Linked DNA regions of Homo sapiens: all the other regions are linked to region 7. The links are contacts of gene promoters, found by promoter capture Hi-C in blood cells and fetal thymus (Javierre and others, 2016). All regions are on one chromosome and are shown on one strand. Each heading gives the region's core, a stretch centred on a gene start or on the middle of the fragment in contact. The rest is flanking DNA. Distances are from core to core; before and after follow the strand shown. Region 1 has its middle 66 kb from the start of ZNF648. Region 2 has its middle 7.1 kb from the start of ZNF648. Region 3 has its middle 27 kb from the start of ZNF648. Region 4 overlaps NPL (N-acetylneuraminate pyruvate lyase). Region 5 overlaps NPL (N-acetylneuraminate pyruvate lyase). Region 6 holds the start of LOC105371642 (a long non-coding RNA gene). Region 7 holds the start of RGSL1 (regulator of G protein signaling like 1).

What was found. The method cuts DNA at HindIII sites, captures the fragments that hold promoters and counts their contacts. A CHiCAGO score of 5 or more calls a contact.
Region 1: a fragment that was not itself captured here is called in contact with the fragment with the promoter of RGSL1 in region 7 in 3 of 17 cell types (neutrophils, M1 macrophages and endothelial precursors); the score reaches 5.8 in neutrophils.
Region 2: a contact is called between a fragment that was not itself captured here and the fragment with the promoter of RGSL1 in region 7, in 3 of 17 cell types (neutrophils, erythroblasts and monocytes). The highest score is 5.8, in neutrophils.
Region 3: a contact is called between a fragment that was not itself captured here and the fragment with the promoter of RGSL1 in region 7, in 9 of 17 cell types (M1 macrophages, M0 macrophages, M2 macrophages and 6 more). The highest score is 13.1, in M1 macrophages.
Region 4: a contact is called between a fragment that was not itself captured here and the fragment with the promoter of RGSL1 in region 7, in 3 of 17 cell types (M0 macrophages, M1 macrophages and M2 macrophages). The highest score is 7.1, in M0 macrophages.
Region 5: a contact is called between a fragment that was not itself captured here and the fragment with the promoter of RGSL1 in region 7, in 7 of 17 cell types (M0 macrophages, M1 macrophages, naive B cells and 4 more). The highest score is 14.3, in M0 macrophages.
Region 6: a contact is called between a fragment that was not itself captured here and the fragment with the promoter of RGSL1 in region 7, in 2 of 17 cell types (neutrophils and erythroblasts). The highest score is 5.4, in neutrophils.

What each region holds. Positions count from the first base shown.
Region 1 is chr1:182,125,495-182,129,442 of GRCh38, forward strand. No RefSeq gene overlaps it. Among named protein-coding and RNA genes, the nearest start is that of ZNF648, 66 kb to the left of the region's middle. The HindIII fragment of the contact is 3,573 bases long and covers 1-3,126 here.
Region 2 is chr1:182,066,882-182,070,811 of GRCh38, forward strand. It overlaps a transcript of ZNF648 not described here. Among named protein-coding and RNA genes, the nearest start is that of ZNF648, 7.1 kb to the left of the region's middle. The HindIII fragment of the contact is 2,333 bases long and covers 778-3,110 here.
Region 3 is chr1:182,086,918-182,090,871 of GRCh38, forward strand. No RefSeq gene overlaps it. Among named protein-coding and RNA genes, the nearest start is that of ZNF648, 27 kb to the left of the region's middle. The HindIII fragment of the contact is 453 bases long and covers 1,966-2,418 here.
Region 4 is chr1:182,820,930-182,824,963 of GRCh38, forward strand. NPL (N-acetylneuraminate pyruvate lyase) reads left to right here. Exons shown (of 13, transcript NM_030769.3): 11 at 1,186-1,270. Among named protein-coding and RNA genes, the nearest start is that of DHX9, 16 kb to the right of the region's middle. The HindIII fragment of the contact is 1,763 bases long and covers 545-2,307 here.
Region 5 is chr1:182,793,880-182,797,639 of GRCh38, forward strand. It overlaps NPL (N-acetylneuraminate pyruvate lyase), which reads left to right. Exons shown (of 13, transcript NM_030769.3): 3 at 477-560. The coding sequence starts at 493. Among named protein-coding and RNA genes, the nearest start is that of NPL, 6.0 kb to the left of the region's middle. The HindIII fragment of the contact is 1,435 bases long and covers 1,378-2,812 here.
Region 6 is chr1:182,107,735-182,111,309 of GRCh38, forward strand. LOC105371642 (a long non-coding RNA gene) reads left to right here and starts at 2,337. Exons shown (of 3, transcript XR_922341.3): 1 at 2,337-2,476. The HindIII fragment of the contact is 1,706 bases long and covers 742-2,447 here.
Region 7 is chr1:182,448,320-182,451,891 of GRCh38, forward strand. It overlaps RGSL1 (regulator of G protein signaling like 1), which reads left to right and starts at 1,827. Exons shown (of 22, transcript NM_001137669.2): 1 at 1,827-1,859. The coding sequence starts at 1,847. RefSeq lists an enhancer at 1,665-2,272. The HindIII fragment of the contact is 4,233 bases long and covers 1,080-3,572 here.

The DNA.
Region 1 (3,948 bases), core at 90-2,589, 320 kb before region 7:
GATGAGCCAGCAATCCCTTTTCTTGGTATATACCTGAAAGAGATGAAAATATATCCACCCCCATACTCATTGCAGCATTATTCGCAATGCCAGGATAATCAAAGTGTCTGTTGACAGACGAATGGCTAAAGAAACTGTAGTACATATACACAATGGAATACTATTCAGCCTAAAAAAGAATGAGATCCTGCCATTTGTAAAAACATGGATGAACCTGGAGGGCATTATGCTAAGTGAAATAACTAAACACAGAAAGAGAAATACTGTATGATCTCACTTACATATGAAATATTTTTTTAAGTTGAATATACGGAGGTAGAGAATAAAAAAGTAATTACAAGAGCAGGGGCTGGGGAGGAAGGAAATAGGGAGATATAGGTCAAAATATAAAAAGCAGCAGATATGTAGAATGAACAAGTATAGAGATCTAATGTACAGCATGAAGACTACAGCTAATAGTATTGTATTATATTGGGGATTTTTGCTAAAAGAGATTTTAGTTGCTCTTGCCTCACACACACACAAAAATGAGTAATGATGTGAGATGATGGATATGTTAATTTGCTTGACTACAGTAACCATTTCACTATGTACATCAAAATGTCATCTTGCACACCTTAAATATATACAATAAAATTTAAATAAATTGCAAAAAAAATAGTAAGAATCATTTCTTGAATACCTACTATGTCCCTGGCACTCATCTGGGTAGTGTTCTGGTAGCATTCTAGGTGTATCTAGGGGATAGATTAGAGAAAAAGCAGATGAAAATTCCTACCCTGGTGGAGCTTATATCTTTGAATGTCAATTTCACACATTCAGTACAAAAGGGCATGCTGATATTTATCCTCATTGAAGCTGTTGACCTCCTTCAAGGGCTTGTCAATACCAGGACTGCTCAAAATGATTAACCAGATGATTTGGACTGCACTGGAATTTGATTAGTGGTAATTTGAAACATCCAATAATATTTGCCTTGCCTAGTGATAAGCAGATACTTGGCAAAGAGGATGGAGTACAAGCCTTGCTTTATCTCAGAACACAGACATCAGGGACTGTAGGAAAGAATGCTCTAGAAGGAGGTCCCCTCCCTGGGGCAGGCCCTGTGTTGGAATGGAATGCAGATTTCAGGTCGGAGAAGGCAAGTGGAGAAGGCCACTGTCCAGGTCTGTAGGTGGGACAGACACAGAGGGCTGGCTGTTTCCCTTGATGGTTCTCACCAGTAGCCAAAATCAGGGATCTAAAACAGAGTCTTTTAACAGGGCTGCTTTATGGAAGAGAGGGGCTAGAGTCGAAAACCAAAACTGCTCCAAAGTAGTCCAAAGAAGCTAATATGGAAACAGCCATTTTTCATAGACTTATTCATTTAGATTAGGATGATATGAATTGAAGAATCTTTTTTTTTGATATTGGTCAGAGACTTAGTGTAAGAAAATTGGGAATATTAAAAAGAAACAACATTGTGACTGGTCTATGATTTATATTACTAATAGTAAACTGCCATTGCTGAACATGCTTAGAAAACATTTTAAAGAAGCTCTGTAGAACTTAGGCTACAAGACTACAACCTGTATCACTTAAGGAAGTTATTATGCTCATAACATTGCCAACTGATGGAATGTGCCTCTGCTGACTTGTACCCAGGCCAGCCCACACCACAGACTGCAGTCAAGTCTTCTCTGCATGTCTTCATCAGCCCCCCACCCTCTGTTTATTAAGGCCACAGTGGAGCCAGCCTGGAGGAACAGGGCTAGGAAGGAGGGCGTGGATCCAGGAACCCAGTACAAATCACATGCAATTCCTCACTGTCTCTAATTTTTATTCTCCAGTGAAGATCAATGTAGGAGAGAAAGATAAATGCAAGGAGGGCACCTTGGGGAGTTAAGGGAAAGTAATGGTGCTGACTGCATGCTCTGGGAGTTGTTGTCTTCTCATATCTGTGCTAGCAGGGCAATTTTCTTCTTGCAACACCACATTCCCCTCTACCTTAACAGTGGATACCTGAACAGTTTATTTTGCCATTTAAAAAGATGCAGAATACTCCTCTCAATCCTTCAATCATACAGATTACAGGAAAAAAAAAAAGAGATTAATACAAGTAGAAATGAGCCTCGGTTTTGCCTCTGGTGTGTCACTGTAGAGGAATCACCTCTTTTTCTAAGCCCCTCTATTCCCTAGGCAGCACCCTAGGCTGTTGAGGCTACACGCCAGCTGGTGCAGCTCCACAGTACCATTCCTATTTGACAGATCTAAGAGGATCCCAGGTATGTAATAAATGGTCATGAGAGGTTCTGCTGACTGTGGACACCAACATACTTGCAGCTTCATTGAATGCTCTAGAAGGAGGTCCCCTCCCTGGGGCAAGCCCTGTCCTGGTAATGGAATTCAGACTGCAGGTCGGAGGAGGCAAGTGGAAAAGGCTGCTGTCCAGGCCTGCGGGTAAAACAGAGAAATGGCTGGCTGCATCTTCCCTTTCTCTATTTTCTTTCCTCCAGTGTATACAAAGTGCTGATGTAAAATTTTCTGATCTCCATCAGCAATCATCTTCAAATAGCAAAGTGGAGAAGGCAGCAAGAAGGGCAATAAACCCAGGGAAAGAAAAGAAAGAAGTCAGCAGCCATGGAGGGAGGCTCAAGTGAGTGGCAGGGGTGATGAGAAACCTGGCCTCCAGGTAGAGAGCACAATGTGAAACTGTGCAGGGGAAGTCAGTTTTCTAAACTGAAGGACACAGCATATCTGTTTTGATGATGTTAGTATTAGCCTATCCCTGGAGATGAGAGTCTCAGCTTAGGCCTCTTACAGAAAGCCTGGTAACTGGTGGTTCTTTGGGAATCCCAGATGTCATGAAAGCTGTCTTCAAACTGAGAGTTAATCGTAGTCTCAAATTTGATGTCCCTTCCCAATCCTCACCATGTGGGTTAGCTTGAGATCTTTTCAGAACATAAATTCTTGCAAAAAAAAGTACTGGAGTTGGTCAGAAGTCCTGGGTTCAAGTCTTAACTCTTAACCATGTACAAATCATTTATATGCCAATTCAGTTTTCTCATTTGTGAGATGGGAAGGTTAACACCACCCTGCCTGCCTCCCTGGGTGGCTATGGGCTGAGGCTCCAGTGAATGAAGGTGAAGCTTGTGCCAGTGGAACCAGGGTTGGCATTTTTCTGTGCGTCATCTGTAATGCTCTGCTCAGGGCAGGTGTCCTCACAGGTTAAGTAACAAGCGGAATGATGCAACAAAGGCAGTACTACTCTCTCTACGTCTGTCACTAAGAGGCTAGGTTGCAAAACATGGATCTCGTTTCAATATCTGTTTCTTTAGGCTTCAAGAAACAAGATCTAAAGCTTCCTTTCCTAGTATTATCCCAGGCACCTCCCGGGCCTGAGCTCACCCTACCTGCACGCACAGCCCTTCGGAAGAATCTTGGAGAGCCACTGCCAAAGTCATTACTGCTATCCTCATTCTGCCCCATATCGTGAATATAGCAATCAAAGGGGCACCTCATGCATGATCGGGAATTTTCCCTGCATCCAACTCTTAGGAGTACGTGCACCAGAAAGTGGGCTGACCAAGGTCGAGTGCTTATTAGTTTAATAATTGGAACACCCGTGGTACTTCCTGCCAAGTGTTCAAAGACATGACAATAAAGTTTTTCCATTTGGCACTGGTGGCTTGGGGGTGAACCTTGCTGGTGCACACAGGGCTGGAGTTGAGGAGCTGGAGGTCACCCTGACCCCTGCTCCTGGAGCCATCACCTCCTTGTCCATGATCATCAGACTTGCATTTCCATGTGAATGAGCCAAGGGAAGAAGTGTTTCTGAGTTTTATGGGCCTTTTATTCTCTTGTTTTCTTTAAAAATTGGACCAGGAACTCCAGCCCTTTCAGCTTTCTTCCTCTCCCTGGAGTCCCACTGGTGCACATTACTGCTAATGGGGCTTTGCGCCTGCCAAC
Region 2 (3,930 bases), core at 694-3,193, 380 kb before region 7:
CCAGAATGCTAGCCCTTAATTACTCTGCTTCCAGAAGGGTGCCATTCTCTGATTCTGGTCTCCTAGCCCCAAACATTCCCACTGAGAGACTGACCAAGCAGCCTTTTTTGAGGCCAATAACGTTCCTAGAGCAGTGATGTCATAAACCTGGGTCTGTCATCGCGTGCTACACTTGGCACACGTGGCAATCAGTGACAGAGTGGAAGGTTTGTGCTCTGGATGGGATGACATTATAAGGCAATGACATCACATGTCAGTACTTCCTGGCACCCCCTGCAGAACAGTGCCAGGTAGAATGCCTTCTCTTCACTAACTCAACACCACCTGCCCCAGTGAAGACTGCACAGTGTAGTGATGGAGCATACAGGCTCTGACATCAGGCTACTTGGGTAAATCCTATTTCTACACCCTGCATGACTGTGAGCAAGTTGCTTAACCTTTCTGTGCCCCAGTTTCTTTGTCTGTAAATTATGGCTAATAATAATATTTAATATCTAGCTTACAGAGTTGTTGTGGGGTTTAAATGAGATGATGTGCTTTGCAGAGTACAAGGGATGGACAAGTGCCCAATCAGTATTAGCTAACAATATAATATGGGGTAGGAAGGCACCTCTACCTCCTGTCTAAACAGCAGAGAACCCAGAGAACCCACCTCTGGTCTCCACTGGAACCTTTTCCTCAAACTTTCTGAAGCCCTTACTCAGTATAACCAGGTCCTACTGAGGCAGTGGTCTCTGGAGCCACTTCTGGAGCTCACCAGAAGACCAGCCCTTTCCAAGCTTCTCAAGACCTACATTGCACTATAGTGACCCTGCCAGATGACCCTGGAAGCCTCTGGCCCAGGCCGAGGGAGCATAAGCTGCAAGCAGTGGGTTGGGCTTCACTGCAAGCAGTTGGATGGGTTCATGGAACCCTCAGGGTACAAGAGGCTGAAGATTCAAATTGTCTACTGACATAGCAGCATATTATCTTGGCCCACACTGACTACCACATCTTTCAAGGCCACAGAGACTTCAGGCCTCCACTCCTCCACATTCCACCTCAGCCTTGGGACCTTGTAGAAAACTGAGGAAGAACACCACAAATGAGACTTCTGGGAATCTTCTATACCTTAGGTTTACGTTCTGACTTTACTGGTCCTTCTGGGCTCAGGGATAGAAGGTCTGGGGAGGTTAGAAGGGAAGATACTGCTTATCTTTACGTAATAAACACATTGAAAAAGAACCCTCTGATCTCTTGTATCAGTGGGAATCCCTTGAACTGAGGCTTACCAGAGCCCAGGGGCATGATGAAGCTGTTGGAAATTTAAAAACAAAGGCATCGACCTCAGTATTTTTAATGAAGAGATCTAAGAAATTATCTAGTGCAGCCCCTCTGTTTTACTGGTGTTGAGATTGAAGTATTCATTTATTTGTTCGATCATTCATTTACTCACCAAACATTTGTTGAGCTTTACTATGTCAGTGTTTTTCAGACTGCAGGACACAATCTGTGAATATGACAGGGAATCACTTTAGTGAGCCACAACCAACATTCTTTTTTAGAATAGAACAGAAGACAGTAGAATATATCAAAGTGTCTCACACATAAAAGTATAGTTTCATGTAATTTTTGTTTTAGGTTTATAAACATAGTCTGGGGGTATATAATGAAGACTGTATCTCATAGTCTGGTTTGCTCTGATTCTTGGTCAAACACAGTTGAAAAACATTGTACATTGCATCAACCCTGCTGTACATAAGAATAATCTGGGGCCAGGTGCAGTGGCTCATGCCTGTAACCTGTAGTCCCAGCACTTTGGGAGGCTGGGGCGGGAGGATCCCTTGAGCCCAGGAGTTCGAGACCAGCCTCGGCAACATAGGGAGACCTCACCTTCACAAAGAATTTTTAAAAATTAGCTGGATGTGGTGGCACACACCTGTGGTCCCAGCTACTCAGGAGGCTGAGGCAGGAGGATCAGTTAAGCTCAGGCTACAGTGAGCCATGATCAAACCACTGCACTCCAGGCTGGGCAACAGAGTGAGACCGAGTCTCAAAGGAAAAAGAAAAGAAAATTTTCCTCTCTGTTCTTAGAAGAAAGAAAGAAAGAAGGGAGGAACAAAGGAAGGAAGGAAGGAGAGAGGAAGGGAAAGGCAGGGGGCTCGCCACCGTCCAGAATTCTCCCCCATATTCCCTGATCCTTGCTTACCGCCTTGGGCAGGTGCTGTCTCTTTCTCTCTGGACCAGGCTGGAGCCTCCCGGCTCTCTGGCTCCCCCTTTGGCTCCCTGGAACATTGCCGCTGGGAGCCTGGCTTCTGACACAGCTGCGGAGCTCCTGGCTCCGCTGTCCTCCCAGGTCACACCACCTACATGCGCTGGCCAGGGTACAAGGGGCCTTTTCTTTCCAAGGCCCCCATCAAAACCACACGCCTCTCCTCGCAGCTGTCTAGCTCGGCTGCCTGAACACAGAGGTAATTCACAGGAGATGTGGAAGGGCATTTGAGGTTTCCATAAAAACATACTCCCTTTTCCTCTTTCAACTGCTGCACTGAACGTAACCAGAGAGGACCTCTCTTCATAGCACTCTGGCCACGGGTGTGAAGCAAGTTTCTTGAAAGAAATTTCCTATAGGGCTGCTGGAGTGCGGCATCCCTCTGTAGGTGTGGATTCTCCTGGCAGGATGAGCTGTGGCCTGGTTTTGCCTATATTGAACAGTAAGCATGTCTATTCTTTGAAAAGACCATGAAAACCTCTGGCAAATCTAATGGGGAGTGGGGGCTGGGTGAGTTAAAAAGAAATAAAATATAAGTAAGGTATAAAAATATAAAGGCATACTTTGAGCAATTTTATGTCATCATGTTTGAAAACATCAATGAAGCAAATTACATTCTTGTACATATGTAGAATTGAAATCTTACATTTGGAATAAAAAGTATCAACAATCTGCTAATAGCTGGGCCTCATCAGATGAAAGTGCCTGGGCCAGACCCAGTCCTTGGCCTTGCAGAGACAAAAACTCTATTTTGACACGCTTCCCCCACCCACCTGTCACCACCTCCACCCCAGGTGCCCAGGCTAGTTAGGGAAGGGCAGAGGTGTGAGGGCTCCAGGCATGGCTACTCTGGAGAGCAAGCTTCTGCTCTTCAGCCAGGTTTTCTCACTTAGGAGGGGAGGGAGGATGAGATATGGCAGAGGCCCTTTGCACAGTGATGTGCAGTCCTTCTTTACCAGGAAAAACGGGACTGCCGAGGATCCCAGGACATTCCTGAAGGCTCACCAGCCTGGCTCTATGCATAGGACAGTGTAGACAAGTTGAACTACAGCACCAAGAGCACTGAATCAGAGCTGGGGCTGGTATCAGGAGCCTGGTGCCTCTTCTGCACCCCAAGGACACGGCTGTGTAACCGGACCCAGGTTCAGCTGCTTGCTGCTGCAAAGCCAGAGGCAAGGGGTTCTGGGAGGAAAAGCAGAGCCAGCAAACCCAGAAGATGGCAAGCTAGCATTCTAAAGTATCATCTTACATTTTATAACTTACCATAGAGTTTTTAAAGGGATATGTGGTATAGGGGACATGTGGGAGTGGTACAGGGTACTGGACTTGTGTGTCTTGTTCCGTTGGCTCTCTTGGTTAATTGCTCATCAGGAGGTCTGGTTGGTATTAGCTTGATTTTGGCTCAATTGTTCACAACTCCCCCTAAGTGGGAGGAGTGGGGCACCTGGATTGTTTCAATATTAGCCTCTGGGATTTCTTAGGTAAGAGCATAATTAGATAAGCATGCACTGGTGAGGGGATTGTCTAGAGAGGGAAGGAATGAAGGGGTAAGAGGGAAGGGAAGGAAGAAAAGGAAATGGGTGATTTTTAAAACAGAGGTTCCTGGTTATAACTGCACAGGGCCCTGTTACCTGTGGCTCCAGCTGCAGGTTTGCTCTCACACAACCTATATGGGCAGT
Region 3 (3,954 bases), core at 942-3,441, 360 kb before region 7:
CTATTTTGAGTGGAATGAAGGTGGTCTGTGGGTTGGAAAGGCCAGTCATGATCCCCAGTCCATTTTGTGGGTGCCCCTGGTTGATCCCTAAGACAACTTCCTGGAGTGTGTGCATTGACCACAGATGTCAGGGCCTGGGCTTCTCTCCTGAACCCAGTTCACACCAAAAAAGGACATGAAGGACAAGGACCAAGAGAGGGCTGGAGGCAGAAGTGCTCTCAGAGCGGACACAGGGTCCCACCCCAATCCTTGTGCCTGAAGCAGAGTTGCAGTGTGGCCGCTACTGGCACCAGTACAGCAAAGCAACACCCTAAAATCAAAGCGGGAACAGCAGGAGATGGAGCCCGTGTCTTTGAGGACCTCAGAGGCAGAACTTCTGGTTGGGGCCTGAGGACTTTTGCACTCTCCTGAGCACCCTTGCCTTTTCTTGCCACCGCAAGGGAGATGTTATCTTCAGACTCTGGGGCTATTGCAAGCTGCTGCTCTTCCATGAAAAGCTTGGGGCCTTTGCTCAGTGAAGTCAGGATGTTTTGAGATTACAGGGAGGGTGGAGGAAACAGGAGGGCCCACAGGGTGGGTGAAAAACCTCATTCTCCGCCCTCTCAGCTCCACCCTGCATGCACTACCAGCATTCTCAAGGCTTCCTTCTCAGTTTGTGTAAGACAAGGAAAGCCTGAACCAGGGATTCCCCTCTCAGCCACCCCAGCTGCAGCCCCTGAGGGTGGGTGTGCATGCAAGGGACAGGGTGGGGAGCCACAAGCTCATCTTCCACCCCTCCACAGCTCATCTGGCCTTGCCTCTATTGCTTGGGGAAAATGGCACCTTGAGGACAGAGTATGCCTTGCTTTCTCCTAGGAGAATGTTCTCTTTCTGTACTCGCTGATGGAGCTCTAGCTAAAAAAAGTATATTTCCCTGCCTTTTCTTTCTTCCTCCTTGAGGGCCTCTCTGTAGACTTTATCAGGCCACACTGATGAGCTCAGAACAGAAAAGTTATGGCTATATGGGAGCAGGCTCCTCCCTCATAGCTCCTGGTCAGATCTGGACATCTGGGGCAGCCGCGGATCAGAGCCCCAGGCTGGCCCTGGACCAGACCCCTGCTCCTCTGTCCCAGGCTGGCCCACTGCCTCCATGAGTCACTAAGGTAACCAGGAGGGCAACCACAGGGGAAAACAACCACCCTTATTGCCCCAGGTGGCAGTCCCAGCCCAGGGCAAAACTGGGGCATTACTTCAACTGTACCAAAGTCAGGCCTGTGCCTGGGGCTGCAGGAGGCGGCTGCAAAGAGGCTGGGCGGGGCAGCAGGAAGCCCTGTGGAACTTGCGTGTGTCCTGACTTGCCATTTCTGATGTCAGCACCTTCAGATGCCCTTTCATGGGGTAGGAACTGGGAAGGGCAGAGGTAGTAACATCTGAACAAAGCTGGGTGAATTCCCACGGAAGACGGAGCATCGAGTCGTCAATGCCTTTTGGTAAACAAGTCGCAGCTCTTCCGTCTTGGCTCATCCTCATGGGCACATCCCAGTGGTGTTCCCTGCCCACCTCTGCACCCACATTTTAAGGTGTGTAATCTGCCTCCAGCTCTGTCCTCCCCACCTCAGAGCCTTAGGATCTCTGGCTCTGACATTCAGTGCAATGTGTGCCGCCTGGTAGGCGCTCAGCGTTTTGAGTGAAAGAATAAATGTTTAGGTTTCCAGCAGCACCCCGTGCTGCTGGGATCACAGAGTGGCTGCTAAACCCAGGGTGTTGATTTGAGTGCCCAATGGGTGCTCCTCCGAAAGTAAGGGAAGTGACCCTGTGGAGCTGTGGCAGAGGTCGCATCCCCTGAGTTGCTGACCTTGCAGAGAAGCACAGGGTGCTCCTGCCTGTGGGTTGGGTGAAGCACCGTGTATATCTTTATCTCTGCTTGGGGGCCTGTTTCCTCCCCTTGACTTGTGCCTCCTCAATAGCAAGCCCGAGTCTCATTTAAGCTTTGAATTCTAGCACAGAGCTGGGCCCATCCATTAGATGAAGTGTGTTTACAAGTCTGTTCCGGAGTCGGTGGTGCTCCTGCTGCTTCACCTGGGCTCAGGACACCGAATACAAGATGCGGTTTCAGGATCTGGAATCCGCAGAGCCAGTGGGCTCCATAACCTGGGTCTGGGTGCCATGGCTAGCATCGTTGGCTGTAAGGAAGCTGTTCTGGCAGTTCTTGATGGCCGCTTCCCTAGCATCTCTGTGACAGGAGCCCTGAGAGAGGTCCTCTTCCTCCCTTTCCTTAACATCTGCCCTAGAGCTCGGCTGAGCTTCCCTGGGCCCTTGCAGCCCTGGTAGGCCTTTAGCACACAGAGTCAATATTTGTAAGATGCTCTGATGAGTGGCAGGAAGGGAATATACATTCTGTTTTATAGAAGGCAAGAGAAATATCAGAGGGAAAAAGTAAGCTTGCTCTTCATATTTGACCCCCACAGTGCCTGGAATGTGTGAGACGGATCCTGCCCTTTCCTTCACCAAGCCACCTAGCAGAACCCATGCCATCCAGGGCATCTGCGAGAGAAACACCTCTCCCAGCCTCCCCTGAGCAGCCCACTAGCGCTGTGGATTCCAGATCCTGAAACTGCATCTTGCACTCGGTGTCCTGAGCCCAGCTGAAGTGGCAGGAGCACCACTGACTCCAGAACAGACTTGTAAAGAAAGAAGGTATCTCCCAAGTCAGCCACAGAGGCTCATGGTTTCCTGCTCCATCTAGTCCTGGGTGTTTGCTTAAATGGGCACTGGCTGACATGACTGAAACCTCATGCATCCATCACACATTCACCCTCAACAAAGACACAGCCCCTCCTTTAAGGCCTGTGCTCCCTGTACATACACAGTGCCCTGCAGCACAGAGAAACCACATGAATGGCCTTCTTGGCTCAAGGAGTCAGGGAGTAGGGGCCTGCTGAGCATGACCATGTCCAGAGAGTGGGGACCCCAAGAACTGTAACAGCCCATTGGACAGATGTGGGCAGGAATGGGGACAAAATCACCCACAGTCTCAGACCCCAAATGAGGTGTGAATATGAAATCCATGAAAACCTCATGTGGAGGCCAAAAGACTAACTAGATTCCCATCTCATCTCTCCAGGCCAGAAGCCTATTATCCAATCCTTCCTCTCATTGCAAGCCCCAGAAGTAACAGCAATTACAAAATAAAGAAAAATAAGAACTTGTCAGCTCCAATTTTGGGGTTTGAATGTGGTCTCTGGGGAATGATCAGACGGTGGAAGCAGCTGTGGGCAGGGACTCCTCATGCAGCGATGACTACTCACTAACCCAGGGCATGCATTCGAGGTAAACCCTGTGGGATTCAGGGCTTGTCCTGCATCTCACAGTTGAGCGGGCAAGAGCCACCTCTGCCCAAGTGAGGCTTTGTCCCGCACGTCATCTGTATGACCTTGCTCTAGGCTGCTCAGGGACGGTAAGATTTTTGTTCTTGAGGACTGGAGCAGGTGATGGCCCAAGTGCAATGAGTTCTGTGGGCATCAATGCTCAAAATAAACACTAATGCACTACAGTCCCTCCCACTTGAGAGGCCCCTACCTGTCCCACAATATCTCATCCACCTAGAATTGAATCCTGGGTCAGATCCATACTCAACCAACTCATTTAAGTGCTACCAAGGGCTGACAGTGGTAATAGGCTTTCCCTATTACCTATAAGGGGCATATGTTCCTTTTATAGATGCAGAAATTAGAAGTCAGATTGCTTAAGTGACTTGCCCAAGACCACAAAGGTAACGGAGACACAGGTCTTTTGATTTCTAATTCAGTGTTTTGACACCACACAAAGGCCACCTCCTTCTTTGAAACCTGGAACGGTGCTAGTTGCCCTACAGAATCCCAGCATGGCAACCGGCTGGAAGAGGAGAGGCAAGGTGCAATTAGCATTCACTGTGTGTCAGGCTTGAAGCAAGCCTTTTCCTGCCTTCTGTTGGTG
Region 4 (4,034 bases), core at 176-2,675, 370 kb after region 7:
TTTTGTCCTCCATACTAGGCATTTTAATTCTGTCAACATAATCTATAAGCAAAGTACATTTGGTTAGACTTCGTTTCTCCCTAGTTATAATCACCTTTCTGTCTAACCAGGGATACACCTAAGACCATTGGGATTCAAATGTTAGTATTCTGAAACTCCTCAGACATTGTTCTTCCTTGCTCTATTGCCACAAGATAACATGAGCTTCACATTCCTGGAATCCCTTGCTGTTGACCCCAGTTCTATATATACAAGTCCAACAACATTTCTGTTAGTGGTACATCAAGATAAATACTTTTTCTGATACCGACTTACTATGAGAGAAGCCATTTGAATTTAAAGAACTTGGGGAAATATCCTTATTATGAGTTTCTATAACCTTCTACCTTGCTGGTTTCTCTAAGAATTCAGTGACTTATTTAAGATATTTATCTTTATAGGTAGAGTTGGAGAGTTTTTTAAGTCCACAAAAATATTTTGTCAGATCAAATTCTCACCTTCATTTTTGTTGAATTGTTATAGAAGACAACATGAAGCAATGGAAAGCTTTCATGGAAACCCTGAAGCCCTTCTTTAATCAAAATAAAAACCAGGCCTACCTTGCAGGGTTTTACAAGGATTAGACATGATTTATGTCAAGCACCTATAATATAATAGGCACTTAGTAAATGATCCCTCATTTTATTATCATCATTATTAATATTACTATCTAGAAACTAGTCTTTAAGTAATATACACATTAGCAAGGAATATAGGTAATTTATTGGGATTTGCCCCTATTTTCATGGTGCTCCATCCACCCAGTTTTTCAGCATAAGGCTTTTAGGACTCACCTCAGATGCTACCTTTTATCCACAGTTCTTGTCTAGCATTGCACCTGTGTGTACCCTAGGGCAAGAGCTGGCCTCAGTCGCTTCCTAACAAATACACCTCCATCTTTTTTATCTTTTTTCTGATTTTCTTCCTTTATCCCCTTTTGCCTGTCTTCCTTCTCTGCAGTACTGCTCAGTATTGCTGGAAAACTCAGAACTGAAGACAGTCTTGTCCCCTAATAGATTAGGATTCAAAAACAGACTTTAGGAGGACTAGGTGTATTTTTTCCCTTTTAAACAGCAGAGGGATTTGAAGATCTGGACCTTTCCTGTTGAGTTATTGAACCTGCAGTATTTGTTATTGTCTTGCCAGTACCTATAACTACCTGGGAAAAAAGACAAACCAGATGTTGGAGGCTTTTGAACAAAAGGACTTCTCTTTAGCCCTGAACTATCAGGTAAACGTTTTCTTCTCTTCCCATAAATCACAGCCTTTTTTCTTCCCCACTTGAGGATTCTTTTTCTTCTCTCTACCATGCCTGCCCTCATTAAAATTGCCCAGCCACTTCTTTCTTTACCTTTCTTCTGTTTTGTACTTTTTCTTGTTTAAAACCAAAGCTGTCCCCATTGTCTGTGTTCCCGACATGTCTAATCAGGACAGGACCCATACAGGGATGGCTCCTCTCTTCCTCCTAGAAAGGATCTTATTTTTACTCTATCTTCAAAGTACTTTTGTGACTATAATAAAATGGTCATAGATTTCTGGGAAAATGACCACAGGCTGTCCCCTTGAGGACATCACATCAGAGTTATCACAGAATATGAGGAAGCTATGAAGATGGTAACCTAAAATGGGGAAGGCTTCATTCAAAGTCAGGGCAGGTCAGTCTTGTCCACCCTGGAAATGTGCTGAGAACTAGGAACATCCACCAGGAAGGAAATAAGAGCCTAGTGGGTGATCCAAAGTAGATACAGGATTTGAGACAGGAAGGAAAAACCAGCAGAAGCTGATATGTTGCACGGAAGACCCCAGAGGACATAGTGGCTGCTGTGAATGTTCCATGGAGGACAGCCTAGCCATCAGGGAAAGAAGAGCCTCAGTGAAGGGTGGAACAGTCTCAACAACTGGTTGTCTTTTATTTAGAGATAGGGTCTTGCTCTGTTGCCCAGGCTGGAGTGCAGCGATGTGATCATAGCTCACTGCAGCCTTGAATCCTCCTGGGCTCAAGCAGTCCTCCCGCCTCAGCCTCCTGAGTAGCTGGGACTACAGGCATGCGCCACCATGCCCAGCTAACATCTGGTTCTAACCCATGGTTCTAAAGTGTAAATGGAATGAATTGGAAGAAAGTAGGGTGGATATGAGAGCAAGACTTTTGGGGTCTGAGAGGCGTGAGGATTTTCAGGATAGTATAAGTGGTTGAGAGGAGTATCCCAAGAAAATAAGTGGGAATGGAAAGACAGAAGCAAGATTGGAGCAAATGGTTGGTCCTAATAAAGCTTGGCTGTGGGATCTTTCTGAACAGGACAGGCTGCCATCAGGGTAATCAGAGATTACAGATCAGAAGTACAAAGTATCCTGGGGGTTAAAGGAAGTGACCTGCAGCCCCAACCCAAAGACAACATGAAGAAGCAGAATCCAGAGTGGTTTATTCCCTACCCGTAGGCCTCAAAGTTGAGCCATCATAAATCTACTTCCTCCTTAAAGTTTAAATACCATATGTAATATTCGCCTTTGTCCTCAGACCAAGTGAAGCTAAGAACAGGAACAGGGTAGGGATCTAGGAAGCTGTGCCAAATAAACTAAACATCGACAAGACTTTGGTTTAGATAAGGGTGAGAAGAATGAATTGTGCAGACTCTGCCATCTCCTTGCATTGATGGTTCTCTCCACCCTGCCCAGTTTCCTAGAAAAGGTTATTTCTGAAAATTCTAACCTGTTCTGAGCAGAACATGGAAATCATAGATGGAGTAGACTGAAGCAGCTATAATGCTGACCCTTCCATTCAGTGACTTCTCTTATTGGTTAATCTAGTCTCCATCTTTTTTCCCCTCTTAGTCCCACTCTAAATAAATCATCCCATTGAAAACAATGTTGGTAAGGAACTTAGTTTACCACTCTCTGTTTCAAATAAATCATCCCATTGAAAACAATGTTGGTAAGGAACTTATTTTACCACATTCTCTGTTTCTTCTTAAGAAAGCACGTGTGAGTGAGTCTTATTTACTCAGTACATAATTTCAGTAAAGGTGGTTTCTGCTCTTAAAGAGCTTGTAGTCAAGTGAAGAAGCAGACAAAAAGTTAGGGCTAAATTTATCTCATTCACTTTAATGTACTTAAGTGCCATCTGTTATATTTACATGAGTGAAATTACACATGTACAAAGATATTCCTTGCAGCTTTGTTTGTAACAGCAAAAGATAAAAACAGCCCAAATATTCATCCATAAGGCAATGGTTAAATACATTTTATTATGCAATTGAATTATATATAGCTCTTAAAATGAGATAGCTTTATGTATTCTGACCTGGAAAGATCTACATGCTATGTTAAATGGAAAAAAGCAGCAAAATATAAGATAGTAAATGTAATGTGCTATATTGTTCATGGGGTAGAACATATATGTTTGTAAGTCTCTGGGTATTAAAATTTTATTCTACATTTTATTTCTAGTATACAGTCAGTTAAAACAAATATGTTAAGCATTTTGAAAAATACTTTTAAATATAAAATGTTATTGAAAATGCATCTCTTAATAAGATGCATGAGGTTCTAAGGCCGGGCACGGTGGCTCACGCCTGTAATCCCAGCACTTTGGGAGGCTGAGGTGGGCGGATCATGAGGTCAGGAGATTGAGACCATCATGGCTAACGTGGCAAAACCCCGTCTCTACTAAAAATACAAAAAATTAGCCGGGCGTGGTGGCGGGCGCCTGTAGTCCCAGCTACTTGGGAGGGTGAGGCAGGAGAATGGCATGAACCTGGGAGGCAGAGCTTGCAGTGAGGCGAGATCATGCCACCGCACTCCAGCCTGGGTGACAGAGCGAGACTCTGTCTCAAAAACATAATAATAAAATAAAAATTAAAAGATGCATGAGGCTCTTTTTTAAAAAATCAGTTTGTCTGGAATCCGTGGATGAATATTACTTAATGCTAGGATAAGTTGAGGTTCAGCATCAATACTATTTTTGTTTTTAGAGAAGTAAGTGCTACAAAACTGTGTTC
Region 5 (3,760 bases), core at 845-3,344, 350 kb after region 7:
AGAAAATCAGTATTTGCAGGATGCAGAATTCTCATATGCCAGGCTTGGGGCTGACTGTGTGACTTGAGTAGGCATGGATTTTGGTATACACGAAGGTCCTGGAACTGATCTTCTGTGTATACTGAGGCATGACTATAATTCACTGTATGTTTTACTTACCTGAGTTAGGTTCAAGCTCTTTCTTGGGTCTGCTGCTGTTAACCTCTATCCTTTGAGGTGTTAGATTGCTTCCATCATCTGTATAGCTAAAATGGGAGACTGTCCACGTAGTATTTTCTCAAGTCTACCCTCTCCTGTCTTAAAGTTTCCTCCTCAATAGAATTAAGCACTAAAATTTTACCATCTTGTACTTGCTCTGTGTGTTTGTGTACTTGTAAGCACATTTTACAGTTCTAAACTAGAAATGGACTTTGCCTGGGAGTTTTATCATTGACATTCCTTGAAGAAAGAGAGAAATTACATTGTATGTTTTCCAGACCTACCAGCAGCTCAATGGCCTTCCCAAAGAAGAAACTTCAGGGTCTTGTGGCTGCAACCATCACGCCAATGACTGAGAATGGGTAACTATCATTTGGGGCCTTGAGGGGATCAGTTCTCATTCAACCAAAAAGGAGAGAAGTTCTTTGTAACAACAGTCACTTAAGACCCTGCACCTCTGTAGAACTGTTGCCAAAAGGCAGCTTCTGTCTGTCATCCCTCTGCACTGTCTCTGATCCCCAAGTCTGAGGAGGCATTATATCTCTGACCCCAAAGTCAGAGAAGCACTATATCACCTTGCAGAAAGGGAGAAGGTGAGAAATGGCAGCTTGCCTTTCTCCCAGTGTCTGTAGCACCACAGAGCAAATTCTCCTTGGATTTCACCACAGCCTTGGCCTTTCTAAACAGGGCCAGTAGCATTGGATGAGAATCCCATTTTAGCATAATTGGATATCAAGCACTGACCTAGGCCCTCTCAGGATGCTGTCTCTGGACGTCAGCATGATTCCACTTCAGGCTGTTCATAGACTTGATAAAAATGTCCTACCCTGAGGAAAGTGGGAGGTTATCTGCAAGATGGACTCTTTTTTCCTGTTTACAGCCTCATTTCAACATTGACTAGATGTTGGGCAGCGGGGGAAGGGAAGTAACAACAGTCCGTTGTTGACTAATCATTACCCCAAGCAAGTATTTTGACCTCCAGATGAATACAGTGGCAGTCCTTCTGCTAAAAAATCAGATAACAAAAAGGCCCTGTGACATAGGGAGCCATGCACTGTGTATAACTCCTCCTTGAACATCACCCCTGACAAAAGAGAGTTCATCCACCTCCTGGATCTATATGTTTTTGACCTGTCAGAGGAGTCAGGCTGCCAAAAAGTTAGAATGCTGGCTTATTTAAGCTTCTCCTTTCTTTCTATGTAATATTATAATAATAATCATACCTACATAATGAATTATAAGCATTAAATGAGATAATTCATACAACAGTGCTTGGCACAGGGTCAATACGCACTTAGGTCAAAAAGTTTGAACTGCCTTTATGTCATAAGGCAGAGGCAAAAGGAAGATGTATTTAGTACACCTTTTACAAGGGACTTTCTTTTTGGTCTTCTGTTGCTGAATTTATAAACGTTCATCTTACCCTTTTAAAGGAGATGAAATTTCTCATGTCTTTTAGTATTCTCCTTCAAAGTTGGCCATTTTGCAGTTCTACCTTAGAGACTCTCCAATGAGTCCAAGACTTCTGGCTTCTAAGATCCATGAAAAATCACGTCCTTACTAGGTCTAAATAAGATTCTTGCTGATACGGCATTTAGATTACTCAGCTGGTTAATAATAATTTTTTTTCTGTTACTTCCCCTTTCCACAAGTTTTAAGAAAGACTGGCATCAGCTGTTTCTCAATGCATCAGTCACTTGTTCGCAGATCAAACAGAAGACATGTGATTGCATGAATCGGCAGGATTTACTTCCTGTTACAGAGTGAGATCCTTTCTGTAATCTCCTAACACTGCATCTGGTCCATACTACTTTAACCTTTTAATAAGACCCCTCTTATCCTGGAAGTGGCTTCTTAAAACAGTCTTGTTTGTTCATCAGGGACCCACGGACAATGTCAGTGTGTTCTTCCTCCCTGTTTTGCCGTTTTCCTGGAAGGCCAGATCCCATGATAGAGATAACTAAAATGACTTTTTCTGGATCTTTTTCCGTTTCCCAAAAATCTGTGGTCCTGCTGCATCCATTTTACTATTTTCTCATCAATTCTGCGTTTTTCTTCTAGGAACCTTACTTTCCTAAGGTGTGAAATCAAAAAAAAAAAAAAAAAAAAGAATGCATTATGTGTAGGCTCTTTAAGAAATAAATAGTGTAGGTCAGTGTATAGCACAGAGTAGGCATGTGAGCCATGTTAGTTCCCTTTTCTCCCACCACCTGCTTCATCAAACATTCCTGTAGGTATAAAGTAGCTTTGGAACACCCACCAAGAACACGTAGGCTTTAATGTACTTACCCACAAGGGAATCTGCACTTCTGGCATGTTTCTAAGACATGAGATGGAAGGAAGGGGCACATGGAATCTAATACCTGGAAATACTGCCAGGTGACCTGCCATTGTGGGAGTTCTCCTAACCTGGCATGTACATATACATATCCTCCATAATTCTGAGTGGCTGAACAAGGACTATTTCCCTATATCCTTTTTTCTTCTCAATTCCAATGAAAGCTCAGTAACAATTCAGCTTTCTGCATATAAGTTGATGTCCTGGAGTAGGGTAGCTGGCAGAAAGAACATGGGTAAGTAGATCTTAGTGAAATGATGTGAGTCCTGGATCCCAAGCTTTGCCACTAGTTAGCTCTCCGACCCTGGGGAGATCTTGTCACCTTTTGAGAGCTCTCTCGGCCGGGCACGGTGGCTCATGCCTGTGATCCTAGCACTTTGGGAGGCCGAGGTGGGCGGATCACAAGGTCAAGAGATCGAGACCATCCTGGTCAACATGGTGAAACCGCCTCTCTACTAAAAATACAAAAATTAGCCTGGCGTGGTGGCGCACACCTGTAGTTCCAGCTACTTAAGAGGCTGAGGCAGGAGAATCGCTTGAACCTGGGATGCAGAGGTTGCGGTGAGCCAAGATCATTCCACTGCACTCTACCCTGGGCAACAGAGTGAGAATATGTCTCAAAAAAAAAAAAAAAAAGCTCTTTCATATTCTCCAAAGGAAGTTCAACCACATTATCTCTATGACCCTTTCCAACTCTTAAGAGTCTGCAGTCCTCTCATGTCATTGGGGATATTGTGGGGATCACCATTAAATAAGAATGTATAAAGTACCTATAATTCCAGTCCATCGTCCACACTGTAGCTCAGTGAGCTTCCTAGTAAATAAATCTGATCATGTCACTCTCCTCTTTAGGAATCTTGACTCTCTTTTGTCTAAGCCTTGCTACCCATCATATGGCCCATGGACCAGTTGCTCCACCACCATGGGAACTTGGTAGAAATGCACAAGCTCGGGCTGTATCATACTACAGATCAGTCCTGCATTTTAACAGTGTCCCAGATGATTCTTTAGCGCATTAAAGTCTGAGATGAGCCGGTCTAAAGATTAAAGCCCAGACTCCCTGGGATGGCATAGGAAGTCCTCACAGTTTACCTTTCCTGCTTCATTTCTTTGTCACCATACCTCTTCTGCCTTTCATGCCTTCACTCATTCTCTTTCCTCTGCCTTTTTCTACCACCATCTTCTTCTTTCTTGCTCCACTTGAACACTTCTACTCATCTATCA
Region 6 (3,575 bases), core at 345-2,844, 340 kb before region 7:
CTCTTCCCTTACTTCTCCCCCTATTTAAAACTTTACTTATTCTTCAAGAATCACCTTCTGCCTCTTGAGTCTAGTCCAAGTGGCCCTTCCACATGCTCCTATGGCAAAGTGTCATCAAAACACATAATTAGCCTGTAATCTCAGCACTTTGGGATGCCAAGGCAGGCAGATCACTTGAGGTCAGGAGTTCAAGACCAGCCTGATCAACATGGTAAGACCCTATCTCTACAAAAAATACAAAAATTAGCCAGATGTGGTGGTGCATGCCCACAATCCCAGCTACTTGGGAGGCTGAAGCAGGAGAATAGCTTGAACCCGGGAGGTGGAGGTTGCAGTGAGCCAAGATCTTGCCACTGCACTCCAGCCTGGATGACAGAGCAAGGCTCCGTCTAAAACAAACAAACAAACAAAACAAGACCACCCCACATAATCAGTTTTTTATGACTGTCACCCTCACCTATCTGTAAGAAACTTGAAGCACTCCAGCTTAATGGTGGCATTTAATAGGCCCTTAGTAACAGTTTGAAAAACTAAATTGAATAATAATCATTAAGATTAATCAAAATTAGAATTTATATTGTCTAGGTGTCTTAGTCATTTCGATGGGTGGGGTTTATTTTGTTGTTCCTTGAGTGTATTTTTCTCTTAATTTTAAATAATATCTATAACTATGAATATTATATTTTAAAGATCCATTATATTTTCTAGCTTATAAATGGGTGATTATCATATTATTTTCAAAGCTTTTTTTTTTTTTAAACACAGCAAGATAGGCACGTTGATACTGAGCTCTCGTTTGCTCATTTTGGGGCCCTCACATATTTTGACATTTTTTTCATCTTCTCCATCAAAAGAGACTCAGTGTTCTGTAGGATGGTGCTCCATTTGTTAATATATTATCGTTATTAATATGTTACCTTCCTTCCTAGTGGGATTGGAACGTACATTGTTTTATGCCTTTATTCATTCCTCATCCTAACCAATTCCTTATATTTATGTCATGGAACCATCTCCCTGGTACCTCAGAGTAAAACTCTTCTCTCAGCAGAAATGATAAGTTCCCTAGTTGGTTATTTCAGTTGCTGGAGCAGTAGCTAGTGAGGGTCTCTGCCCCCTGCGATTAATCCAGACGATCGCTATCAACTTTCTCACCTTTGCTCTAAAAACCCCAGCTTCCCTTAGCTTTATAACAATAATGGTGATGCCTATTGCCAGTGATTTGAAGAAGCGACCCAGGGAAGAAGGGAGTGAATGCTTTTTACAAATGACTGGTTCTCCATTTGGTTTTATTGCTTATTCTCTTACAACTTATAACCCCCAAAAGGCAAAAGAAAAGTTCATTAGTTCAGTGTCTGACAGCTCAGAAACGAGTAACCCAACACATTTGTGTCCCCTCCATTGATTTAACCCTTGTCGTAAGTTGAATTTTCAAATAATGTCCACAGCTATATTTCTAGTCTCACATATTGTTCTGGAACCTTGCCACCTCCATCTGCAATAAGAAATGAAGTCCATCTCCCCTTCGCTTTGTGACTGCTTCAATGGGTATAGTGTCATGGAAATGATACTGAATAACTTCTAAAGTTAGGTTATGAAAGGCAACCTGGCCAGGCATGGTGGCTCATGCCTGTAATCCCAGCACTTTGGGAGGCCAAGGCGGGTGGATCACTTGAGCTCAGGAGATGGAAACCAGCCTGGGCAACATGGCAAAACCCTGTCTCTACTAAACATACAAAAATTAGCTGGGCGTAGCCAGGCGTGGTGACTCACGCCTGTAATCCCAGCACTTTGGGAGGCCGAGGCGGGCGGATCACAAGGTCGGGAGATCGAGACCATCCTGGCTAACATGATGAAACCCCGTCTCTACTAAAAATACAAAAAATTAGCTGGGCGCAGTGGCAGGCGCCTGTAGTCCCAGCTACTCGGGAGGCTGAGGCAGGAAAATAGTGTGAACCCGGGAGGCGGAGCTTGCAGTGTGCCGAGATCGCGCCACTGCACTCTAGCCTAGGTGACAGAGCAAGACTCCGTCTCAAAAAAAAAAAAAAAAAAAAAAATTAGCTGGGCTTGGTGGCACATGCCTGTAGTCCCAGCCACTTGGGAGGCTGAGGTGGGAGGATTGCTTGAGCCCAGGAGGCAGAGGTTACATTGAGCCAAGATTGTGCCACTGCACTCCAGCCTGGATAATAGAGTGAAAATGTGTGGCGGGGAGCGGGGGCGGGGAGGCAACCCACACCTTGGGAACACTGAGCTGCTCTTTATGATGATATCCAATTACCCTGAAGCTGCATGTTGGAAAGGTCATGTGGAGATATCATGTAGAGGGAGAGAGAGGCCCAATGAACCCCAGCTATTTTAGCTCTCATTTTTGCATCTTCCCAGTGAACTGACAGACAAAGGCTGGGAGCTGGAAACTTCTGAAGGCTCATTCACTTGCATGTCTGTCATGAAGCTTCAGGGCAGCTCCAGCTGATGCCAGGTGAGCAAAGATGAGCTATTTTCTCTATACCCTGCCAAAACTGCAGATTTGTGTGTGAAACAAATGCTGTTTTAAGCCACTACATTTTTGGAGGGGTTCTTATGCAGGAATATGTAATGAGAACACCCCTAATGACCTGAGCTCAAACCAGAAGTATTATTTAATCCCTTTTCTGTAAAAAAGTAGAAATTTAGGTTCTTGATGTGCTCTTTATGGCAGACAGAAATGACAAGTCAGAGTGTTTTAAACTCTTTGTTTCCAGGCTACTGGGTGAATATAACACAGGAGATATTTATTCAGGGCCTCTGGGAAGCTAGAGAAAGAAAGAATAATTAAAGTGGTCCAGAAGGAAGAGAAGCATGTGACAGGCTATGCCTGGTACCTCCAGACCAGAGGGTAAGGGATGACCATTCCTTTCTTGTACATGTGTATCACATTCCTGATTTTCCAAAAACGGTATTCACCACCCCCAGAGAAGAACGCGAAAGTCCTGCTTTTCAGAGTGCATGATTCTTTCCACAGAGAAAGAAGATTCCCCCCTCCCTTCCTCTCCTCTCCTTGCTACTTACTATATTTCTAGCGCTCGTGCCTCCATGATTAGAAGACAGGTGGATGACTGTCCATGGTGCTGCCCTCTGCTTACTGCACCAGACCATGTTTTGTTCCTTCACAGGAACCCACATCCACAGGCTCTGTGACTTACAAAGACAAAGGCATCCTAGATGCCTACATGATCTAGAATGTGTCACTAGGTCTTGTACATTTGTTGCAGATGGGATATAAAGAACGTCTAAAAGGGAAGACCACCCTTTGTTCTTTTCTTTACTCCAGTACCTTACCTTTCCTCCTCTATCTCTTTCCTTCACCCCATGCCCTCTCCCTACAGGCCTCTTTTATTGCTGTGCCAGATCGTTAAGTGGAGGTAGAAAGTGGATGGCAGTGGCAGGGTCCTGAGGGTCCAGAGGATAGGACTATGCTTCACAGTTATCCAGGTGGCAGCTGTGGTGAGGGCTGACAGAGATGCTCCATCTGAAGCCAGACCTGCATACCAATCCAGCCTCTGATGTTTGATTGCTGTGTGAGTGAAGCAGTCACTGAG
Region 7 (3,572 bases), core at 577-3,076:
CAAGCAATTCTTGTGCCTCAGACTTCTGAGTAGCTGGGATTACAGGTGCGCAACACCACATCTGGATAATTTTTTTGTATTTTTAGTAGAGAAGGGGTTTCCCCATGTTGGCCAGTCTGGTCTCTAACTCCTGTCCTCAAGTGATCCACCCACCTTGGCCTCCCAAAGTGCTGGGATTACAGACGTGAGCCACTGCATCTGGCCCCAATATTTTCTATATTTACCTGATGATAATAATTATCTGGGGGCACTTGGAAAATATACAGACTCCTGAGCCCCACCCCTTCTAAATCAGAATTGCCAGGGGACGGTCCCGGCAATTTAGGTTTTTAACAACAACCCTGTCAATAAGGTAATTCTTATTACCACACATTTGGGAGACATCTGGTGCCCTTTTCTTTTGGGAACTAGAAGGTCATGAAAGGGTCAGGGATCTAACCATTATGCATTTCAAGATTTAGCCAGTGATACTGGCTTTTCATCTTTACTGTTTTTAGAGTGACCCTATTTGGTTGTTAATGGCTCCAACAGTCAGCCTTTTTGAACTGTGGGAAAGACGGTGGGGCAGCAATTAGGACTCAAGGGTAGGTGCACACAGCTTGATTGAAAACAGTCTGAAAGCATTCCATCTTAAGGAATGTGAGCATATATTACTACTGTATATGCCATTATTTTAGGAGGAGACCTTGACTCTATTTATTTTGCAAAAGAGGTGATAATTCAAGGAATAATATGATATTGTAGAATCATGCAGTGCTTCACACTGAACTCTCTTAAGATGTGTGCATGTTAAACTGACTAATTAATAAGGTGAATAAGGTAATTGATAACAGATTGAAGAAGTATGGTAAGCTACAATCTCATCTTGCAATACATAGAACATCAAGATGTAAAGCAAGAATCTCTTCTCACTAAAATCACTTTAAAATGCAGTATTTGGTCTTTATATATTCTAAAGAAAGTACAGCACTTTTTCAAATGTAAGTGATATTGTATTGACGATTCATTATTAACAATAATCCTTCCAGTTTTCAGTTTTCCCTCCACCCCCCATAGGAAAGCCTTTTGGACATTATATAAGCTTCCCTACAATCCCAAGACTTAAAAGCCCTCTCTGGGTGTGACACTGAAGAATTCTATTCTCAGTAATTCTTGGCTAAAGTTTGAAGGATTATAGGGCTTTTGGTCTCTCATCTTAATATTTACTTCCTATTAGGGAAGAACAGGAGAAATGAAGAGTTGTTTAATGAGAAAACCAAGAGCCTGAAGAGTCTTCAGAGGAAGGGAGTTCAAACCTCTTGGAAGCTGATGTTTTAATTTTAATTTTTTAAAGATGAGGTTTCACTCTGTTGCCCAAGCTGAAGTTCAGTGGTGTGATCACAGCTCACAGCAGCCTTGAATTCCTGGGCTGAAGCAATGGAGGTTGATGTTTTAAATGGGCAGAATATCCAGGAGTTACTGCTTATTAAAATTACATCAAATGTAACCGTTTACAAGACCCTTAGGAGCTGAGTTTAGCAATGCAAAAGTCACCCTAGCATGGGAGAGGTTGGAGCAGACAAGAGATCTTGGGCACAATTATAAAGAACTTGTCAAATAAAATAGTATGAACTAAAGGCTTAAGTATAGGAGGAGTCTTGTATGTCCAAGGGGATTCAGCAGATTAGGTAAGATAAAGACTTATCTTCAGATTAAGGCCTACACCAGAGGTAAGTAGATCACTGCCAGATAGAATCTGGAACCCCTTAGAGAAGGTGTCATTACGTGTTCACAATGGATATAGTTCTATTGACTGGGGGGTAATTCTGCCCCTAACAAATTACTGTGTCAGGAAGAGCATGGCAACATGAGCAGTGCTGGTGAGTCTCTGCCAGGGATGTCTCCAAGGCCTTGAGTCTCTCAAATAAGGCAAACCATTCATCTTCCCAATTGTTAATAGATCTGAGCCATTCAGGGGCACCATGGGTGACTTTTGTGTTATTCATGCCTTTGTTTTCCTTCTCTTTCTCCTTCTTCCCCTTCCTCCTACCTTCTGCCACCAGATCTTTGAGGATAGTACAGGGCCTTATTCATAAGACAACTAAGGCAAGAGGGAGGAAGTAAAATGTGGATTGGGCCACCTCTCCTCCAGAGAGAAGACTGGTATGGGGTTTGAGATTATGCAGTGATTTCATTTGTTGCCAAGTCAATATTATTATGGCGTGGAATGGGTGCTAAAAGCCTTCTCAAATTATTAGGAAGTTTGAAGGCAGAACAGGTAAGAAGGAAAAACAAGAATGGAGAAATGAGAGGATGAGGAAGGGAAGGATGTACAGAGCCTTGTCTCTATATCTCCTTAAGACTGTTTTGGCAATGGCAAGCCCTAGCATAGTCAGGCCCCTTGCCACCAGCGGTGTGTGTAGCTGTGAACAACAATCACTAGGGAATTTCTGCCAAACCCCACTTTTCTGTATTCAGATGGGCTCAGTAATATACTCATTCAACAAATCCATGTTAGACTCTATGAATGATAAACAAACAAAAGTCCAAAAGATTGAAAATCATTGGCTGGGAGCGTTGGCTCACCCTTGTAATCCTAGTACTTTGGGAGGCTGAGGCAGGTGGATTACCTGAGGTCAGGAGTTCAAGACCAGCCTGGCCAACATGGTAAAACCCCATCTCTACTGAAAATACAGAAATTAGCCAGGTGTGGTGGCATGCACTGTAATCCCAGCTACTGGAGAGGTTGAGACACAAGAATCACTTGAATCTGGGAGGCAGAGTCTGCAGTGAGTTGAGATCTTGCCACTGCATTCCAGCCTGGGTGACGGAGTGAGACTTTGGCAAAAAAAAAAAAAAAAAAAGATTGAAGATTATCTTTTGAAAGAACAATTTATTCCACATTTACAGAACTTAGACATTGTGCAAACACTTTTAGAGCCTAGAGGAAGAAAGGTGAAAAAACAAAGTCCCTCCTCTCACACGCTCAGTCTGATGAGGAAGACAGATATATCGATGGATAAAAACAGTCAGACTTGTTAATTGTAATAATGGAGGATATACGTGATGGTATAGGGAGATAGTGATGAATTCTACCATTGCAGTAGATTCTACCTTTCTTGGCTCACCAAGATTATATGTAAACCAGTTCTTAATGGATGACTATTAATTTGTGAGCTGACTGTGCTTAAGAAAACATTTGAAGCAATGGGAATATGGGAACAAAGACATGGAGGTTTCAAGTGAGAGTACCTAGCACATGCAGGAAACAGCAATGCCTTGGCTTAGCTTGCAAACAGGAGGCAGAGTGCGCAGAGAGGCAGGAAATGAGACTGGGAGGAAACTCAAAAGCCAGATGGGGTAAAGCCTCAGATACTATACTAGAGAGTTTGGACTTTACCTTCTAGGACATCAAGGAGATTTTGAAAGACTTTAACAATAATAATATCAACAGATTATGGTGGCAGTACGTGTAGGGTGGTTGGAAGGGCAAGAGGTGGGAGCTAGGGAGACCATTTAAGAAGCTGATGCAGAAGTCTAGGTGAGAGAGCATAGAGGCCTGTAATGGAAGAGTAACTTTATGGATGGAAAGG